Linked DNA regions of Homo sapiens: all the other regions are linked to region 2. Evidence: promoter capture Hi-C in 16 types of primary human blood cells and fetal thymus (Javierre and others, 2016). All regions are on one chromosome and are shown on one strand. The core of a region is centred on a gene start or on the middle of the fragment in contact, and the rest is flanking DNA. Distances in the headings are between cores, read along the strand shown.

What was found. Contacts are between HindIII fragments. The CHiCAGO score rates a contact against its expected background, and 5 or more counts as called.
Region 1: a fragment that was not itself captured here is called in contact with the fragment with the promoter of NME5 in region 2 in 1 of 17 cell types (M1 macrophages); the score reaches 5.2 in M1 macrophages.
Region 3: a fragment that was not itself captured here is called in contact with the fragment with the promoter of NME5 in region 2 in 1 of 17 cell types (naive B cells); the score reaches 5.1 in naive B cells.

The regions. Positions count from the first base shown.
Region 1 is chr5:137,907,537-137,910,236 of GRCh38, forward strand. It overlaps PKD2L2 (polycystin 2 like 2, transient receptor potential cation channel), which reads left to right. Exons shown (of 15, transcript NM_001300921.2): 7 at 206-376; 8 at 1,229-1,410. Among named protein-coding and RNA genes, the nearest start is that of PKD2L2, 19 kb to the left of the region's middle. The HindIII fragment of the contact is 259 bases long and covers 1,244-1,502 here.
Region 2 is chr5:138,138,023-138,140,966 of GRCh38, forward strand. It overlaps NME5 (NME/NM23 family member 5), which reads right to left and starts at 1,406. Exons shown (of 6, transcript NM_003551.3): 1 at 1,349-1,406; 2 at 630-763. The coding sequence starts at 758. It overlaps BRD8 (bromodomain containing 8), which reads right to left. Exons shown (of 27, transcript NM_139199.2): 26 at 2,683-2,860; 27 at 1,748-2,144. The coding sequence ends at 2,052. The HindIII fragment of the contact is 15,003 bases long and covers 1-2,944 here.
Region 3 is chr5:137,986,433-137,989,132 of GRCh38, forward strand. It overlaps FAM13B (family with sequence similarity 13 member B), which reads right to left. Exons shown (of 24, transcript NM_001385994.1): 8 at 1,842-1,883; 9 at 1,029-1,184. Among named protein-coding and RNA genes, the nearest start is that of FAM13B-AS1, 45 kb to the right of the region's middle. The HindIII fragment of the contact is 1,300 bases long and covers 756-2,055 here.

The sequences.
Region 1 (2,700 bases), core at 123-2,622, 230 kb before region 2:
ATATTTTTCAACTTTATAATAATTAATGCTACCTTAAACTTGTATAAGTTGAGGGTAATTTCCATTTATGTAAAAGCATATGTCCTATCTTTCCTTCCCTCTTTGTTAAACTTTTGATGAACTTTTTTTGTGTTTCCTCATAGGCTGTAAGATATTTAGAGGTAGAGATATTCTCTAATTTAACCCTTCTTATTTTCCCATTTAGTTGTGTTTTGTGGCTGTTTCCTTCAACACATACTATAATGTACAAATTTTTCTCTTACTTGGACAGCTGTTGAAAAGTACTGAAAAATATTCAGATTTCTATTTTCTTGCATGCTGGCACATTTATTACAATAATATAATTGCTATTACCATCTTTTTTGCATGGATAAAGGTATTTATATTTCATTATATTACATAATACAAGCAGTGTAATAGCATAATGAAAAATTAAACTAAAAAGCCATGGGGAAAAAAGATTTTTTCAACTATTAAGTAATTTTAAAAGTAGTTTGGGCCAGCACAGTGGCTCATACCTGTACTCCTAGCACTTTGGAAGGCCAAGGCAGGTAGATTCTTGGCCCCAGGAGTTTGAGACCAGCCTGGGAAATCCTATCTCTACAAAAAATATCAAAAAAATATTAACTGGGTGTGGTGGTGCAAGCCTGTAGTTCCAGCTACTCTGGAGGCTGAGGTGGGAGGATCCCTTGAGCCCGTGAAGTGGAGGTTACAGTGAGCTGTAATCCCCCACTGCACTCCAGCCTGGATGACAGAAAAAAAAGAAGTTGGCCAGGCACGGTGGCTCACGCCTGTAATCCCAGCATTTTGGGAGGCTGAGGTGGGCGGATCACCTGAGCTCAGGAGATTGAGACCAGCCTGGCCAACATGGTGAAATCCTGTCTCTACTAAAAATACAAAAAATACTAGCTGGGCATGGTGGCACGTGCCTGTAATCCCAGCTACTAGGGAGGCTGAGGCAGGAGAATCACTTGAACCTAGGGGGCAGAGGTTGCAGTGAGCCGAGATCATGCCACAGCACTCCAGTCTGGGTGACAGAGTGAGACTCCATCTCAAAAAAAAAAAACAGAAGTTTGGCCTTGTAATGATTGCTGGGAAATCCTCAAACACCCATGATTATCATTAAATATCTCCTTTAATTCGAAGCAGAATTCTTCTGAAATTAATTTATTCTAAGTAATTTCATCTTTGATATTCTCCTATTTCAATTAACTTTGTTCTTTTTCAGATATTCAAATTCATAAGCTTTAACAAGACAATGTCTCAGCTGTCATCAACCTTGTCCCGTTGTGTTAAAGACATAGTAGGATTTGCCATCATGTTTTTTATAATATTCTTTGCTTATGCCCAGTTAGGATTTCTTGTTTTTGGATCACAAGTTGATGACTTTTCCACTTTTCAGAATTCCATGTAAGCTCTTAGTATAAATGTAATTATATCTTCTATATTTTCTTACAAAAAAAATTGGAAAGGTCTAACCTTCTATGATAAGTAGTAATATAAGCTTTAATATATTTAAACTTAGTTTGATATTTTCTTTTTCTTTTTATTTTTCTGGAGACAGGGTCTCATAGCTCACTGAAGCCTCAAACTTCTGGACTCAAGCTATCCTCAGCCTCCCAAGTAGCTAGGACTACAGGTGTGCACCACCACGCTTGGTTGATTACATTTTTATTATTTTTTGGTCTCACCATGTTGGCCAGGGTGGTTTTAAACTTCTGGGTTCAAGTGAACCTCCTGCCTCGGCCTCCCAAAATGCTGGGATTACAGGCATGAGCCACCAGCCTGGCTGATATTTTCACTGATGGCTAAATATCTGTCACATTCAAATTAGGATTTGACATTGAAGGAGCCAAATGGGTGACGGTGTCCATTTTTAAGGTGTTAATAGGTCAAGTTAGAAAAATAATTTTTCATTTTTCATTGGAAGTGATAATTTTACCTAAGATAATAGAAATTGTCCCCCATGTCTCTGTGGTGTTTATTCTCTGGACAAAAGAAATTTTTTTTTTTTTTTTTTTTTTTGAGACAGGGTCTCCACTCTGTCACCCAGGCTGGACTACACTGGCGTTATCACAGCTCATTGCATCCTAAAACTCCTGGGCTCAAGCAGTCCTCCCACCTCAGCCTCCCAAGTAGCTGGGTGTGCCACCACATCCAGCCAATTTTTGTATTTTTTGTAGAGATAAGGTTTAGCCATGTTGCCCAGGCTGGTCTTGAACTCCTGAGTTCAAGTGATCCTCCTGCCTCGGCCTTTCAAAAGTGCTGGGATTACAGATGTGAGCCACCACACCCAGCCAAAAGAAATCTTAAGTGTTTTCTTTAGAGGGCTCCATCTTAATATTTTTATTGATATTGACCTGATCGTCCTTTGCTAATCTGCCAAACATGTATTTTTAAAATAGCTTTAGGCTGGGTGCCATGGCACCTATAATCCCAGCATTAGGGAGGCCAAGATGGGAGAATCACTGAGGCCAGGAGTTCAAGACCAACCTGGGCAACATAGCAAGACTGCGTTTCTACAAAAAAACAAAAAACAACTAGCTGGATGTGGTGGCATATGCTTGTATTCCTAACTACTCAGGACACTGAGGCAGGAGGATCACTTGAGCCTGGGAGTTTGAGGTTACAGTGAGCTATGATCACACCACTGCACTCCAGCATGGGCAACAGAGTGAAACCCCATCTCTAAAACAATAA
Region 2 (2,944 bases), core at 156-2,655:
CTATAAAAGAGGAAGATTAAAAATATTCAATTCTATTTGATTTATCCTTAACAATGCTATTTATATTCACTTTCAAACCCCTAGAATGACAATGTTTACTAATTGCAGAACATAAGGCTTAAAACATTAAATGTTATGCCATAACTGAAAAAAGTACCAATAGCCTAAAATTCCATCAATAGAAGATCAAGTAAATAAATTGTAGTTCTAATACACAGGGAAATATTACACAGAAATTAGGAAGAGTGAGATCAATTCAGATGCAATGATCTGGAATCCTATCTGAGGGACTCTGTAAAGGGGTCAAGGGAAAGGGACTGTTCTGTTTTATGGGGGGAAAATGTTTATAAATGCATAGAAAACTCCTGGAAGAACAGAAAGTGTTAAGTGGTTGCCTCTCTCTGGAGCCTGGGACTTGGGGTAAAAGAGGACAGGTGAAGGAAAAGTCCATTTTATTTCTCATTTTACATCCTTTTAAAAACTATCACATATAACTTTTATACTTAGAAGAATAAACTTAAATTTAATGCTGAACACTAAGGGTTTAAATGGGTAGGCACATTTACATAAGCATTTTTTTTTTAAGGGCAGAGAGGAAAAAAGCATGAATCATCATACCCAGAAGTTACCTGAACAATGGTGAATCCGGATCTAAGAATAATATCTTGTATCTCCTCCTCTTTGTCAACAATATCTGGTTTGATAATGGCCAGAGTTTTTTCTACATATATCTGAGGTGGAGGCATTGATATCTCCATTATGGCTTTTCAGGGCACAAATTAAGAGTTTCTTAACAGGTATCAACTGCAATGACATGCATTTCCCCCCACCCCCATCGCAAATTCAATGTAATTATGATTAAGAATAGCAATAGTAGGTACTTGATTTTATTAACTGATGAAGGTAGAAACTGCCATGTTTTTCTATATACAGGGTCTCAATAATAGGATTCCTACTATGTCCAAATCGAGCCCCGGCTTTTCGTATACGATGTCACCAAGGCAGGAAGGACTATGGGCTCACATAACCAGAGGCCAAGGGGCGACCCGAAGGCCTGGAACCAGCAACAGCCCCAGGCAGCAGAGGGCGGTGGGGCGGGTGGTGGGGGCTCGAGGGGGCGGTAGAGCGGGTGGTGGGGGCTCGAGGGGACGGTGGCTGGTGGGCAACCACACACCATTACAGCGGCGGGTGAGCGGCCTCGGCCAGCTGCCTCTGTGAAGCGACCCTGTCCCGCAGGGACCTCTCTGTGCATAGGGTCAGGCTAATTGAAAAGCAGGGCCTCTAGGTCCGCGGGGACTTTCCGGGTTGCACCTGCAAATTCTGAATTTGACCCTCTCTAAGTACTCACCTCAGCGGCCGTCCTCATATGGTACAACTTGTTGCTAGGAGACCTGAAGCCCCAGCGTGGGGACGGTGGCTGCAGAGAGCCAATCCCAGCAAGGAACCTTGCAGCTTCTGGCCAGTTCGTTTTAACCAAAGGGAGCCAGCCAGTCACTTTTATTCTCCTTGTGAATCTTAGAGCACTAGATGTTTTCTGACATTTTACTCATAATTTATCTTATTTCATCCTTCTTCCCGTTTGAAGGATGCTTCAATTATCCCTACTCTATAAATGATAAGAACCCCTCCCCCAACCATTCCTTTCCAGGCGGTATATGTAAATGACCCGTGTCAGATACCTTCGTTTCACCAGATGATGCTGTGCCCTCTATGCCCAGCTTATCTAGTCATTAAAAAGCAATATTCCTATTGTGTAAATACATTTATTTATAGAGTAAAAGGCTTAGAAAAGATCTAATGGAATTGTCTTTAAATCAAGCCGATGGAACAAAGATGTGGGCAACATTTATGGCATAAATCCAAACCTCAGCTTCCCCTTTTTTTCTTTATATTATGTCCACATGCATCTTTGACTCGTTGGTTGTGAGTTAAGGTATTATTCTTGTTGGAAAAGAAAATGAGGACATGGCAAAGAAGTACCAGGATCCTCTCTAGGTCAGAGTTCCGGGAGAGATTCAAACTCTAGAAAAAGTCAGGATAGCAGCTCCAGGTTAGAAAACAGGTTTTCCATCATCCACTGGGTTAGCTGGTTCTCCTTCCAGACTACTTGAGCCTTTTCTTTTGTCTAACCAGATATTCAGTACCTAAAGGGTTAAGGAACACATAGCAAGCTATTATGAACCTTAAACACTAAAGTATTGCAAGTTTATTTTTTTGGCAAATAGACTCAACTATACTTTTTTCTTTAAAGTATGATGCTACCCAGAAAAGAAACCCACAAATGTCTTCTAGCTACTATATCTTATCCCCTAAAGATGGGAAAGTGTGAACGTACATTAATAACAACAGATGAAGCAACCAAAAAATACACAGTGACTCCAGCCTCTTTGGAGTTTAGCCCTTGACTTGAGGCTCTGGAAGCGGGAATTCCCATTACTTGTCTATCCTCAGCTCTCTTGAGAGCTCTTCACTGCTGCCTGCATTCCTAGACTACTTCACTATCAGAGCTGGACTTACTGAGGCTCAGGGTTTTCCAAACCAGCAGGCACATTATCAATCCTTCAGGGCCTTAATCACCTTTAAAAATAAACTCTGAGAACACAGTCACCTCGAAATCACCTTTATTCTCATAGGCGTTCTGAAATCAAGATTCCAGAGGCTACAGGTATCTGCATACAGTACCTGAATCTGCTCCAGGACTTCTTGCCGCATCTCCACAGCCATATGGTATACATGATGATCAGAGTCATTGTACATTACAGCATTTTGGAACATCAGCATCAGGTCTCGCAGGAATTGGGCCATGGTGCGAATCCGACCCTTAGAGAGATTTCTCTTCAGGCTAGTTAAGTCCATGGGTCTGCAGGTGGCCAAGAAAAAACAAAGAAAATCAAACCTTCATGTGGAACATATGATAACCTAACACGTTCTCTTGAAGAACTAA
Region 3 (2,700 bases), core at 156-2,655, 150 kb before region 2:
CCCAAAAAAAATTGATATATGAAAAACATGAAATCACTGCACCACGGTCTCTGAGGGAGGCACACAGGTATCCTGAAATACAGGACTGAAGTAATAGAAAACAAAGAGAGGCTTTCCTTCATTTAAAGGTAACAGGTCAGATGAAGAGTGGAGTAACATCATGCATTATAAGTACTTTTAACTAATACACATTTAAATACAGGTTGATTATTCCTTGTCGGAAAAGCTTCGGACCAGAAGTGTTTCAGATTTGTTTTGTTTGTTTTCAGATTTTGGAATATTTGCCAGTTAGCAACTGGCTCATAAATTATTTTAAAAGCCATTCATTTGCTTATGAAAATTTTCAGAGAGCATGACAAACAAGGTCCCTCACAACATCCCAAGGAGAGGTGCCAGACTGGCATCCCTAATCTGAAAATCCAAAATCTAAAATGCTCAAATGAGCATTTCTTCTGAGTATCATGTCAGTGCTCAAAGTTTTGGATTTGGGAGCACTTCAGATTTTGGATTTTTGGATTAGGGATGCTCAACCTGTATTAAGAGTTAATCTAACAAAAACATAAGCAGGGGAGAGGCTGGTGGGAAGGGATAACTATTTAAATAGCAAAGGATGATTCTGCCCACCATTTCACTCAATGATTATATGCACTATAGTGATATCAATCTGCTGCCCCTGTAACTGTCTGTCTAGATCACTCTGTTGCAGAGTCTAATTTTTTAAAGTTATTTTTCATACAACATAATTCCTAAAGGTAAGCTTGTTACTTCATTCGATGTTCAGGGGAAAAAAAACAACAAAAAACAAACAAACCTGTATTGGACTTAATAAAACATATATTATGAAAAAAGTGATGAGATATCCAGTGTTAAGTATGGATGTATATACAAGTATATATACAAAGTCACTTTTCACAAACAACTTTCAGAAATCTCCAAGAAAGATGAGATCCTGTTATTTAAGTAGCAATACAGTTTTAAGATAAAACAATTTTATAACATTTAATAAACAACAGTAAAATGTTTCTTACTGGTTATTAGATCCTTCCCCATCACAATGAATACTTTCTGCTTCATTATTACACACCACACTTTGCTGTTGTAAATTCTTAAGATCATGATCTATGCTGCTCTGAAGATCAAAAAGGTGCTGTTCCACAGCTGCTCTAATTGTTCTTTCTAAAATACTACAAAACAACACGTTTTAGTAAGAAGCAGTCACTCTAACTGGATATCTGGTGACACAGACATAAATGCTAAAACCTATGACCAGTAAAACTATTATGGTACTTAAATGGGTAAACCAAAGTGTAAAAAGAAATACATAAAAGGAATACATGATACTGGCTTAAGTTTTAAAAGTAAAATTTACCCAAACAGACAATCATATACAAATCAACCATAATGTCACTATTATTACTGGGATGGGAAAGATCAGTTGTCCCTATAATTCACTCCTCACTACACAGAAAACCACTAAATAAGGCTTTTCAAAGCTATACTTATAAAGCAAAATAACCTACTAACAGCAAAATGAAAGAAACCATGAGTACTGCTCACACTTCTTATGTAAAGTCTACTTTTTTAAAACTTATATTCTATGAACATTTTTCAATTATTTCAGAGGATTCAAAAAAACCATCTGAAGAAAGCTCATCTTTATTTTGTATAGTAATGCAATGGGTTTCTTCTTCATTTGTTCCTATCACAGTACATAAAAAACTAGTTTACTGCCTGTGTACAGTCTTTCCTCTAAAGTGAGCACAAGTACATTATTTTCATTTCTACAGCTTAGTAGTATTTTAAAATCTTAAAAATTTGTCTTCTATAAATATACTACTTACTCTGTAGAGGCTGGTAGGATGCTGATGGGAGATATATGGGTGCTGCAATCAAAGAAAGAAATTAGCTATAAAAATGTTCAATACTTAATAACTACAAAATGTGCTGAAATCTGCCATATTTGCACTACCTTGACACAACCAGGAGAGCACATACTAAGTGTTGTATTCTTGTTTACATATCAAGTTGGAAATATTTTCTGAATCTGGTTGGTAAAGCTTTCAAATATTAACCAAAGAAAATAAATTTGGAAAAACGTATCACTAACAAGACCAAAAATTTTAAAGTTAGAATTCATTATGAGCTAGGACCATTACATGCATTTATCTCTCATTTAATAACTTTCAATACCCAAGGAGTTACAATTATTTCCCCCTTTCCACAAAAGTGAAGCTCAAAGATGTTAATTAACTTGGCCAAATGCATATGGCCATGGGTTGGGTACCCCAAAGCCCCTGCTATTAACAAAGATGCTCTACTGCCTTCTACAACAAAAAAAAGTGACTAAAAACAAAAACACACACCACAGCATGAGCACCTCTCACAGATGATGAACCTAATTTTCTAAAGAAACTATTTTTCACACAAAAAGACCCCCAAATATATATACTTGTGGGGGTGAGAGTGGGACAACTACTTTCTCTGGTGCTCAGGTGGAGAAAAACTGATCTATTTCCAAAGCTGGAGGGAAAATTAGTTGTACTGGATTTAGGTGAACAGTAGTATTAGCCATTGATGAATACAGGTAATTTTTAAAAAATCATTTATCAGATAAAAGATAAGGTATGTTTAAATGGCACTGTGTGCCTAAGCACATCATCACAGCCAACACTTAGCCATAGGGAGGAGTGACCCTGCCTT